Linked DNA regions of Homo sapiens: region 1 is linked to region 2. Evidence: promoter capture Hi-C in 16 types of primary human blood cells and fetal thymus (Javierre and others, 2016). All regions are on one chromosome and are shown on one strand. Each heading gives the region's core, a stretch centred on a gene start or on the middle of the fragment in contact. The rest is flanking DNA. Distances are from core to core; before and after follow the strand shown. Region 1 overlaps APBB2 (amyloid beta precursor protein binding family B member 2). Region 2 holds the start of CHRNA9 (cholinergic receptor nicotinic alpha 9 subunit).

What was found. Contacts are between HindIII fragments. The CHiCAGO score rates a contact against its expected background, and 5 or more counts as called.
Region 1: a contact is called between a fragment that was not itself captured here and the fragment with the promoter of CHRNA9 in region 2, in 1 of 17 cell types (neutrophils). The highest score is 9.9, in neutrophils.

What each region holds. Positions count from the first base shown.
Region 1 is chr4:40,865,104-40,869,821 of GRCh38, reverse strand. The region is part of intron 12 of APBB2 (amyloid beta precursor protein binding family B member 2); the gene reads left to right. It overlaps LOC124900907 (small nucleolar RNA U13), which reads left to right and starts at 852; the gene lies at 852-958. The HindIII fragment of the contact is 725 bases long and covers 1,979-2,703 here.
Region 2 is chr4:40,332,824-40,337,569 of GRCh38, reverse strand. CHRNA9 (cholinergic receptor nicotinic alpha 9 subunit) reads right to left here and starts at 2,237. Exons shown (of 5, transcript NM_017581.4): 1 at 2,039-2,237; 2 at 1,598-1,743; 3 at 206-360. The coding sequence starts at 2,102. The HindIII fragment of the contact is 7,151 bases long and covers 1,860-4,746 here.

The sequences.
Region 1 (4,718 bases), core at 1,092-3,591, 530 kb before region 2:
GCCTTCCTAGGTAATAAGCCTGTTAAGAAAAGTAAGCAATTATATAATTGGCAAAGAAATTAATACAAAGATCTAAACCAAGAAATATCAAAGTCTTTTATTCTTAGAATTTTTTTCATTTCACGTATATTCCTTGTCTGCCTTCAGAATCTAAAATTCTGGCCCACTTTGTTTATAGAGCGGTCCCTTTAGACATTTGCCTTATTTTTAGGCCTCTTTTATTTTTTTTCTTTGGAGACAGGGTCTCACCCCTTCACCCAGGCTGGAGTACAGTGGCAGGATCATAGCTCACTGCAGCCTGGATCTCCTGGGCTTAAGTGATCCTCCCACCTCAGCCTCCAGAGTAGCTGGGATTACAGGCACATGCCACTTCGCCCAGTTAATTAAAAAAAAAAAATCATATTGATGGGGTCTTGCTATATTGCCCAGACTAGTCTCAAACTCCTGGCCTCAACTGATCCTCCTACCTCACTCAGCCTCCCAAAGTGCTGGGATTACAGTTGTGGGCCACTGTGCCCAGCCCATTTTAATCCTAGGGCTAGGATTATTTGCCATTACCACACACTGTTGATTATTATAGCTATATATGCAGCTTTAAAATTGGATACACTGATTCATTCTACTTTATTCTTCTGTTTACAGGCAGGTGCCTGTAATCCCAGCTACTCAGGAGTCTGAGGCAGGAGAATCACTTGAACCCGGGAGGTGGAGATTGCAGTGAGCCAAGATCTCACCACTGCACTCCAGCCTGGGCGACAGAGCAAGACTCTGTCTCAAAGAAGAAAAAAAAAATAGAAAGGTGGTGTGGGGACAAATCGAGGTAACACATGTATAAGAAATAAATATTATTGATCTTTTAGTAGTTCGTAAGCATGGTGATTGGCTTTTCATGTGCATGTGTGAAATGTGCCTTCCACAAACCTTGTTACAAAGTTGGCACACTACCATTGATGTGAAAGAAAAAAGTTATTAAAATAAGAGGTCCTTGATGGCAAAAATAATAAAATGGCTCTTTGGTGGTTAAAAGGACCAATTTGGTCCAATCTCAACTCTTTAAATAAAAAGGAATTTTGCTTGAGGTAAGTAATTTAGTTCCTTTGTGGAAAGTTCTTTGACTTCTAAGATGATTCAGAGTTTGGAATTACTGATTTAGTCTTCTGACTGTATCAGGAGTCTTTAAATATACATTTTCAATTCAATTAATAAGTCATGAGTTCAGTTAATTTATCATCAGTGCAATCAGAAACCATCAAAGTAGACTGAGTTGCCAGCCTTTACTTCTGGCTAATCCTGACACATTTCACATGTCATGGATTCCTGAAATTCTGAAGCTGAGATTGCTAATGGTTCAGATTGGTTACTGGATCATTGTGTTCCTAAAGAAAAATTATACAGCTCGCTTCAATGATGCAGTTTCCCCTCTTTTCCTCAAAAAATTTTCTATATGAGAGAAGAAAGCAGAATCTATGGTCCAGTAAAGCAGTGATGCTCAAATCCAAGTGCATGTCAGAATCCACTGTGGGTCTTTTTCAAACAAAGCTGGCTTTGCCCCAGCCTCAGTGGTTCTGATTAATTCAGTAGGTCTGGGGTGGAGCCTGAGAATTTGCATTTCTACTAAGTTCCCAAGTGACACTAATTCTGTCTGTGGACCATACTTTAAAAACCAGCTGGGTGTGGTGGCTCACCCTGTAATGCCAACACTTGGGGAGGCTGACATGGGAGGATTGCTTGAGGCCAGAATTTCAAGACCAGCCTGGGCAGCATAGCAAGACCCCATCTCTAAAAAAAAAAAATAGCCAGGCACGGTATACCTGTAGACCTAACTACTCAGGAGGCTGAAAATTTAGAGCCCCTTTCAAGACCCTAGGAGGAGGGCTAGCAATTAGATCACATGGTTTATATAAAATGATTTTGCAAAAGGAAGATAAATTTTGTATTCTTAAAAAAAAAAAAAAAAGCCCCAGAAATTGTCTAAGCTTTAGGTCCCACAAAACCTAGATCAGCTCCCTGATAATTGATCAATATAATTAACTAATATATATGAAAGGAATACAGACTGTAAGCAAGAGAAGTTTTTTGTAGGCTAAGCAGTCTCTAAGTCCCAGGAATGAGAGTACATGGGAACGTCATCTCAGAGAACAGGAGCCCCATATGTGAACTTTGTGTGGAACTTTAATTGAATGAGCTCAATGGAGAATTTAGGCGGATGAAAATTCAAGTTGATCTTCACTCACCTACTAAATGATCAGCTTGCTATGTGTGATGTATCAATTTATTTGTGACAAGATCAGACAATTTGGAGAATGAGACAGGTTCAAATTTTGGCTTCACCTCTTATAATTGAGTTCACTCATTCCCTCTGAGCCTATTTTGTTTACAAAAAGGGGGTTGATAATAATAATAGCTAATTTAATAGGGCTAATGGGGTGCTATAGTGAAATGATAGATATGAAAAATGCTCTGAAGATAGAAAATGCTGCACAGATGTTAGTAGCTATACAAAGCTAACAAATAGTATACTCATCGTTTATATTAATAGAATGACTAAAAGGTCATTCTGCTGGAGAAGGAGTCAGTCGACTTTTTCTGCAAAAGACCAGACAGTAAATAGGCTTTGTAGGTCATGCTGTGTCTGCCATGGTAGGCAAAAGCACCTACAGACACGATATAAATGAATGTGCATGGCTGTGTTCCAATAAAGCTTTTATTTGTAAAAGCAGGTACAAAAATGGTGATACACTAAAATTGATCTAAAAGGACACTGTCGGCCGTGCATGGTGGCTCATGCCTGTAATCTCAACATTTTGGGAGGCCGAGGCAGGCAGATCAGTTGAGGTCAGGAGTTCGAGACCAGCCTGACCAACATAGTGAAACCCCATCTCTGCACGGGAAACTGCACAGTTCAGTGCTTTTGTATTCTACTAAAAATACAAAAAATTAGCCAGGCATGGTGGCGCACACCTGTAATCCTAGCTACTCAGGAGGCTGAGGCAGGAGAATTGCTTGAACCTGGGAGGTGGAGGTTTCAGTGAGTAGAGATCGTACCACTGCACTCCAGCCTGGGTGACAGAGCGAGACTCTGTCTCAAAAATAAAATAAAATAATAAAAGGACACTATAAAATAATAAAAGTCCCTTCAAATTAGGAACTTCCAGTTGAATCCGAAGATAAAACAAATAACAGCAACCATATATGATGTTTTTATTTAAACTCAACACTGAAGGATCAAAATTATATCGGCCTCAGTTTCTGTGGCCTTCTAATGTAGCTGATATCTCTTTAGGGCATGAGGGCACATAGGTGGAATAGGAAAAGCAAAGTGAGGAGGAAGAGGGAGGCAAGATTAAGAACAGTTGAGGGTGAAAATAGCAGCTTGTTTCTTTTTATGCTTCTTGCCACTGGAAGTAACGATCATCGGGTAAGCTCCTGCTTAAACCCTCCTCTGGGATTCAGCCTCAACAGTAAGCTCCTGAGCATGGAGTTTCGTGACCACCAAGAAAGTAAAGTGCTTCTATTTTGTAATCTCCTAGTGAATTTTTAAAGATGACTGATGGTGTCCAGGCCTGTGAACATGGAAAACTGAGGTAAACCCATCAAGAGACAGTTGCCCATCCATCTTAAAAGGCAAGTTAATCATGAACCATGAATAAAGCCGCTGTAATCATTCACATACAGGTTTTTGTGTGAACAGAAGTGTTCACTCATCTTGGGTAAATACGTAAGAGTGGGATCACTGGGTTGTAGGGTGACAGCACGCTTAAGTTTATGAGAAACTGCCAGCCCGCTTTCTGAGGAGGTGCACCGTTTTGCATTCGCAACAGCAAAGTAAGAAAGTTCAGTTGCTCCGCATCCTCACCAGCAGTTGGCATTGCCAGGATTTTTTGGTTTGTTTGTTTGAGGGTGGTGGTGGTTATTTTAGCATTCTAAAATGTGTGAAGTGGTGATTCATTGTGGTTTTAATCGGCATTTTCCAAACAAATGATGTTCAGCATGTTTCATGTGCTTGTGAAAAACATTTATCTTCTTTGGTGACGTATCTGTTCAGATGTTATTGCCCATTTAAAAAATTGTGTTGTTTGTTTTCTTATTATCGACTTTATTCATAGTTGCCAAAACTGGAAAGAGTAAAATACCTATCAACTGGTAGATGGATACACAAACTCTTGTACATCCATGCAAAGGAATTCTCAGCAATAAAAAGGAATGCACTGTTGATACACTCAACAATTATGCTAAGTGAAGGAAGCAAGGTTCAGAAAGCTAGGTATTACAGGACCCCCTTTTTATGACATTTTGGAAAAGGCAAAACTGCAGGGACAGAAATCAGATCATTGGTGGACTGGCAGTGAGGGAAAATTCTTACTTATTTTTAAAGAACTTCTCTTGTCTTCACTCCTTAGCCCTTACTGTCTTACTCTCCTAACCCTACCTTCCCAGCCATGGGTTTAGTATCTGTTTCAGCTTGAGTTTCTGATGCAGAAACACAAATGTGATTTTCTCAAATTACAATCATGGAACTTGCCAGACAGCCAGCTTTTTCCTTGGCCCTCCGTGACTGTGTGTCCCTGTGCATGCAGTACCCCTGTCCTTGCAATTCTGCTTTCCAGGGAGAGCAAGCCAGGGCGTTGAGTGGGGAGATGGTTGAACATTTTAAGAATTGAAAGGACCAGGCGTGGTGGCTCACACCTGTAATTCCAGCACTTTGGGAGACCAAAGTG
Region 2 (4,746 bases), core at 988-3,487:
ATGGATGGTTTCTTTCCAGCTCTAAGCTTTTATGACATATTATTTCCTGATCTAAGATTCTATGTCTCTTATTTCAGTAAGTCCTAGGAACATGGATTAATATTTAATTTCATGCATGTTTTAAACATTCCTTTTTCATTATGTTTAAATTCTATGAAATCAACACGTTCATGCCTGAAAAGCCTCAGTTCTGAGCTGCACTTACTTGTTATATAAGACGATGTCTGGCCTCCACACGAGGTCACTGGGGATCCTGATGGAGTCTAGGCCATCGTACTGATCTCGGTCCCACGTGAGATAGGCATCGTGCCAGATTTGGCGGATCCACAAATAAGCAGTCAGAATTTGGTTTCTTTCATCCTACACAATGAATCCAGATGTCGCTTTACCTAGCAGACACTTGAAATGTTTTCCACTGATAGGACACTTGTTCTTCACAATAGGAATTTCACAAACACTCATCAAATTTCAATAAGTAAAGTGAGAGCTTTATTCTTTATTTATTCTATCCCCTTGATTGACTGCCAAGATCATATTTTTTTTCCTCCTAGATTTAGTGTTCAGAATGTAAAGTGGACAAATATTTTAGTATTGATATCTTTGCATAGATCAACTGCCTATATTTCCTGAAAATTGATCAATGAATGATGTACTTGAAAGCAAAAGTCAGGAAATAACAATGTGCAGAAGGAAAATCTTTCAAGTTTCATAACATTGTGTAATTAAACATAGATAAGCACTAATAAGCTATGCCATCTTAAAACACTACCTTTTTTAAAAAATTGAGATTGGCCGGGCGCGGTGGCTCATGCCTGTAATCCCAGCACTTTGGGAGGCCGAGGCGGGCGAATCATGAGGTCAGGAGATTGAGACCATCCTGACTAACACGGTAAAACCCTGTCTCTACTAAAAATACAAAAAAAAAATTAGCCGGGTGTGGTGGCGGGTGCCTGTAGTCTCAGCTACTCAGGAGGCTGAGGCAGGAGAATGGTGTGAACCCAGGAGGCAGAGCTTACAGTGAGCGGAGATCATGCCACTGCACTCCAGCCTGGGTGACAGCAAGACTCCGTCTCAAAAAAAAAATTAAGATCAAATTCACATTAAAACTCACCATTTTAATCATTTTCGAAGGGAACAATGCACCGGCTTCCAATATATTCACAACGTTGTGCAACCATCACCACTGCCTAATTCAAGATCATTTCTTCCCCCCGCAAAGAAACGCCGTAATCATTAAGAACTCACTGGCCGTTTTCCCCGTCCTCCCCACAGACCCCGGCAACCTCTATGCCGTTTTCTGTCTCTACGGATTTACCTCTTTTGGACATTTTATATAAATGGCTGCATACAGTATGTAACCCCATCTTTCTTTAGATTATCTAAGACTGTTACAGTTAATGACCAGGATTAGGTAACGTTTCTTGAAATTAATTAGTTTTGTAGAAAGCTTCCTTTTCCCGACATTCTCTTCTCCCACCAGCTTGCTTAAGGAGCTATCATTCCCTCTCAAATTCCCAGTTAAGACATTCTCTTCAGAAAGCATGGTTGTTTATCCTCTAAGAATCATTCCACAGAGTCAGCACCATGTGTTACTCACCATATCCTTAATCTGAGAGAGCGTAATCTGCAGGGTCACATTCAGGACTTTATCTGTATCTTCCACTGGACGAAGAGCATTAGAATAATCTTCAAAAAGGTCATTAAACAACTTCTGAGCATATTTTCCATCTGCCGTCTCTGCAGCTACTCAACAAGAGGGATCTGGATTAACATTCAGAGTGTTGTGTGTATTTCAAGACAAACAACACAAGACTGAGGTCTAAAATGGGGGATGGCCCAACACTGGCGAGGGACAAGCTTTGGGTGGATGGATGAGTTGTTTTTCTGGCATGCCCTACCAAGATCAGAGTCAGTAGGAAGCACAGAACACTTCCATGCGGTTGAATCATCTGTTTTGTCTTCCCTGTCCTGCCCCACCTCCCACCAAAGCAATAGCCCCAGATGAGACAAGATAGGTTACGTGTCACCAGCCTCTCACCTCTCAGTCTGGAAGCAGCAAAGTAGATCCAGCAAAAGGAGATGCAGGAATGGGACCAGTTCATCTTTTTCCTGAGCCTCTATAATAAAGTCTCAGTCAGGCAGCGTGGTCTTCCACTTCCCCCTATGAATACAAAGGATCTGGGCACAAGGAGCCCACACCGCTGCAGCCTTATGGCGGGAGAGCTCAGGCTTGCATTGCATGCAGGACCGAGATCCTGAGATCCAGGCCTGCCCTCCCTCCCCTCCGGTAATTTGAGACTGGCAGCTCCAGTGGCTGAGAAGCCGGGAACCCAGGGTGTGTTAGGTCCAACAGTGCTGTTGTGGGGGGCCATCTCAGTTGAGGGTCCCTAGCCACCCTCAGCAGAAACAACCAGACAGAAAAGGAGGTAGATGCAGGCAACAGGGGTATGCCTGACACCCCAGAGACTCCATCTAAGCAGAATGGGAGATTTCTACACCCACCATGAGCAGAGTCAGCCTGAGTCCAGGGACTAAGGGAAGCCTAAAAGACTGAGCCATGGGACGGCTGTCCAGAAAGACTCTACGTGCTTTTAGCAGCATTTGAAGAGGGAAAGAGACACGGTTCTATGATCTCCAGAATATATTGGCATTTTGGTTTTTTCTCTGCCTCAGCTTCTGATCCCTCCTGCAGCTGTCCCACTGGGCATGGATCTTGCATAGTAAATGTTTGTGAGTATATATGTGAGGGGGTGTGCTGGATGGGCGGATAATCACTCGCTTAAGAAGCAGCAACACTGTGAGTTGGATTTGGACTTGACCACCTGGGTTTGACTGCCAGCCAAACCCTGACGAGCTCTATTATTCTGTAAAAGTCACCTAACCTCTCTGAGCCTTCCAGAACTACAGACTGGGGAAAATAATATTTTCTCTCTCTAGAGCTACTGAGATAACTGTATGTGAAAGCACTTTCTAAATATCAGTAATTATCATCTTTGATCAGCTTTGCATACCCAGAATTTCTATACTCACCAAGTCACCCAGGATTTACCAGCTCGAAAAAAAAAAAGAAAAACTGGTTCAAAGGCTGACCAAATCAGCATGAGAATAATAACCAATGGTGATATTGCTAATGATGACACCCTTTGCATTTGAATGCTACTTCATATAAAGTTTCAGTCATTTCTCATATGTGATATAATTTTACTCCTATAAAAAAATGTCAATTTTCAATTGCTGCTTAGTCTGGAAACTCATGTCTGTCTCTCCTCTTGCCTGGGGAAACTGCTTTGGAAAACCATATTAAGATAATTTGGTTGCCTGGAATTGGAGCGAGGAAATTGGATAGCTCTGTTTCATCAGGTTACAGCCGCCTGATGAGTCACCCCATCCCTCTTCGGGAATGTATCCTCTGAGTGGAACAGACACTCAAGCCATCGGCAAAGTGTTTCTTAATTGCCTATCCCATTGTGTTGATTGTGAAGACATTATTTTTCTGACGCCCCTAGTCTGACTCATTCATCAAATGACACAATTCCGGGTGCCCACGCTCAGTCCTCCTTCAGCAAACCATCCGCTCCAGAATCTCAGAGGCAGAAGGTAATTTTGAAATTGAGTTTAATGCCTCACTTCTATATGAGGAAACTGAGGCCCAGGGATGCAGAGTGGCTTCCCTCCAGCAGTGATCGGCCAGAGACAGGATCCAGGCCACCTGCCCCAATCCACTGTGCTCCCTGCAACACTAACAATGCATCTCTTCCTTCTCGTTGTCTTTCATCAATATGGCTTTTGATGCCAGCTGGGTGGTGACTTCCTTGTGTGTAGAGGATCTTTACCTCATATGTCTTGGATTCCTTACAGCACTCACAGGGTTGAATTGTAGTTGACACAGGGCCTACCTTGAATGGTGTCCCTTCCCTTCCTATACCACTCCCCTCCCTTCAGGGTCCCTTCTCCCCTCAGGGGCCTCTTTTAGGTTGAAGCTGCTGAGAACCTTTGCCCATTGGGGTCCAGTGTCCTGGGGGGCATCCCTGACTCCATTCCAGGAGGATGATGGCAGTGCTCCCATTCCTTAGAATAGAGTCCTGTCTGACAAAGAATCCTAGTGAATTCTATGGCTAAAATATCCTCTGCCCAGCAGCAGAGTGGGGATGGGAAGAACAAATACCTTCATTCTGCTACATGTGTTTTTTAAAACAAAAATTACAAGAGTCAAACATCATGTTTTGCAAAGGATTTTTTCCCTGCAAATGAATATGGCATGAATATTTTCTCCATTTCATTAAGTACAGGATCAGAGCACTTCTAACCTGTAAAGAGCTCTTTGAGGACCATCTAGCTAAGGTCACTCATGTTACAGATAAAGAAACTGAGGACTAGAGAGGTCAGAAGCCTTCGCAAGGACATAACCCATCGTCCTGACTCAATACAGTGCTCCTTACACAACACCAGTTCATCTGGTGAGGAAGCTCAGAGGAAATCAAGGTCAAGTGTGCCTTTAGGAGGCTTGGGAATGCACTTCCTTTCAGCCAAGGGCAGGTGGGACTTCGATCTGCCCCACAGGAAGGTGGGTAAAGGATGCTGACTCTCCACCAAGAACCATGCCAGAGACCCTCAACCTCCCCAGGAGGCTGGGCTCTTCACAGAGGAGTGCTGTCCTAGGCACTCAGAGCCATGACGCATGCTAACCAATGCTTCACAACTCACTGAAATGGCAGGAGATACCTCAATGGGATGCCATCCCCAAGG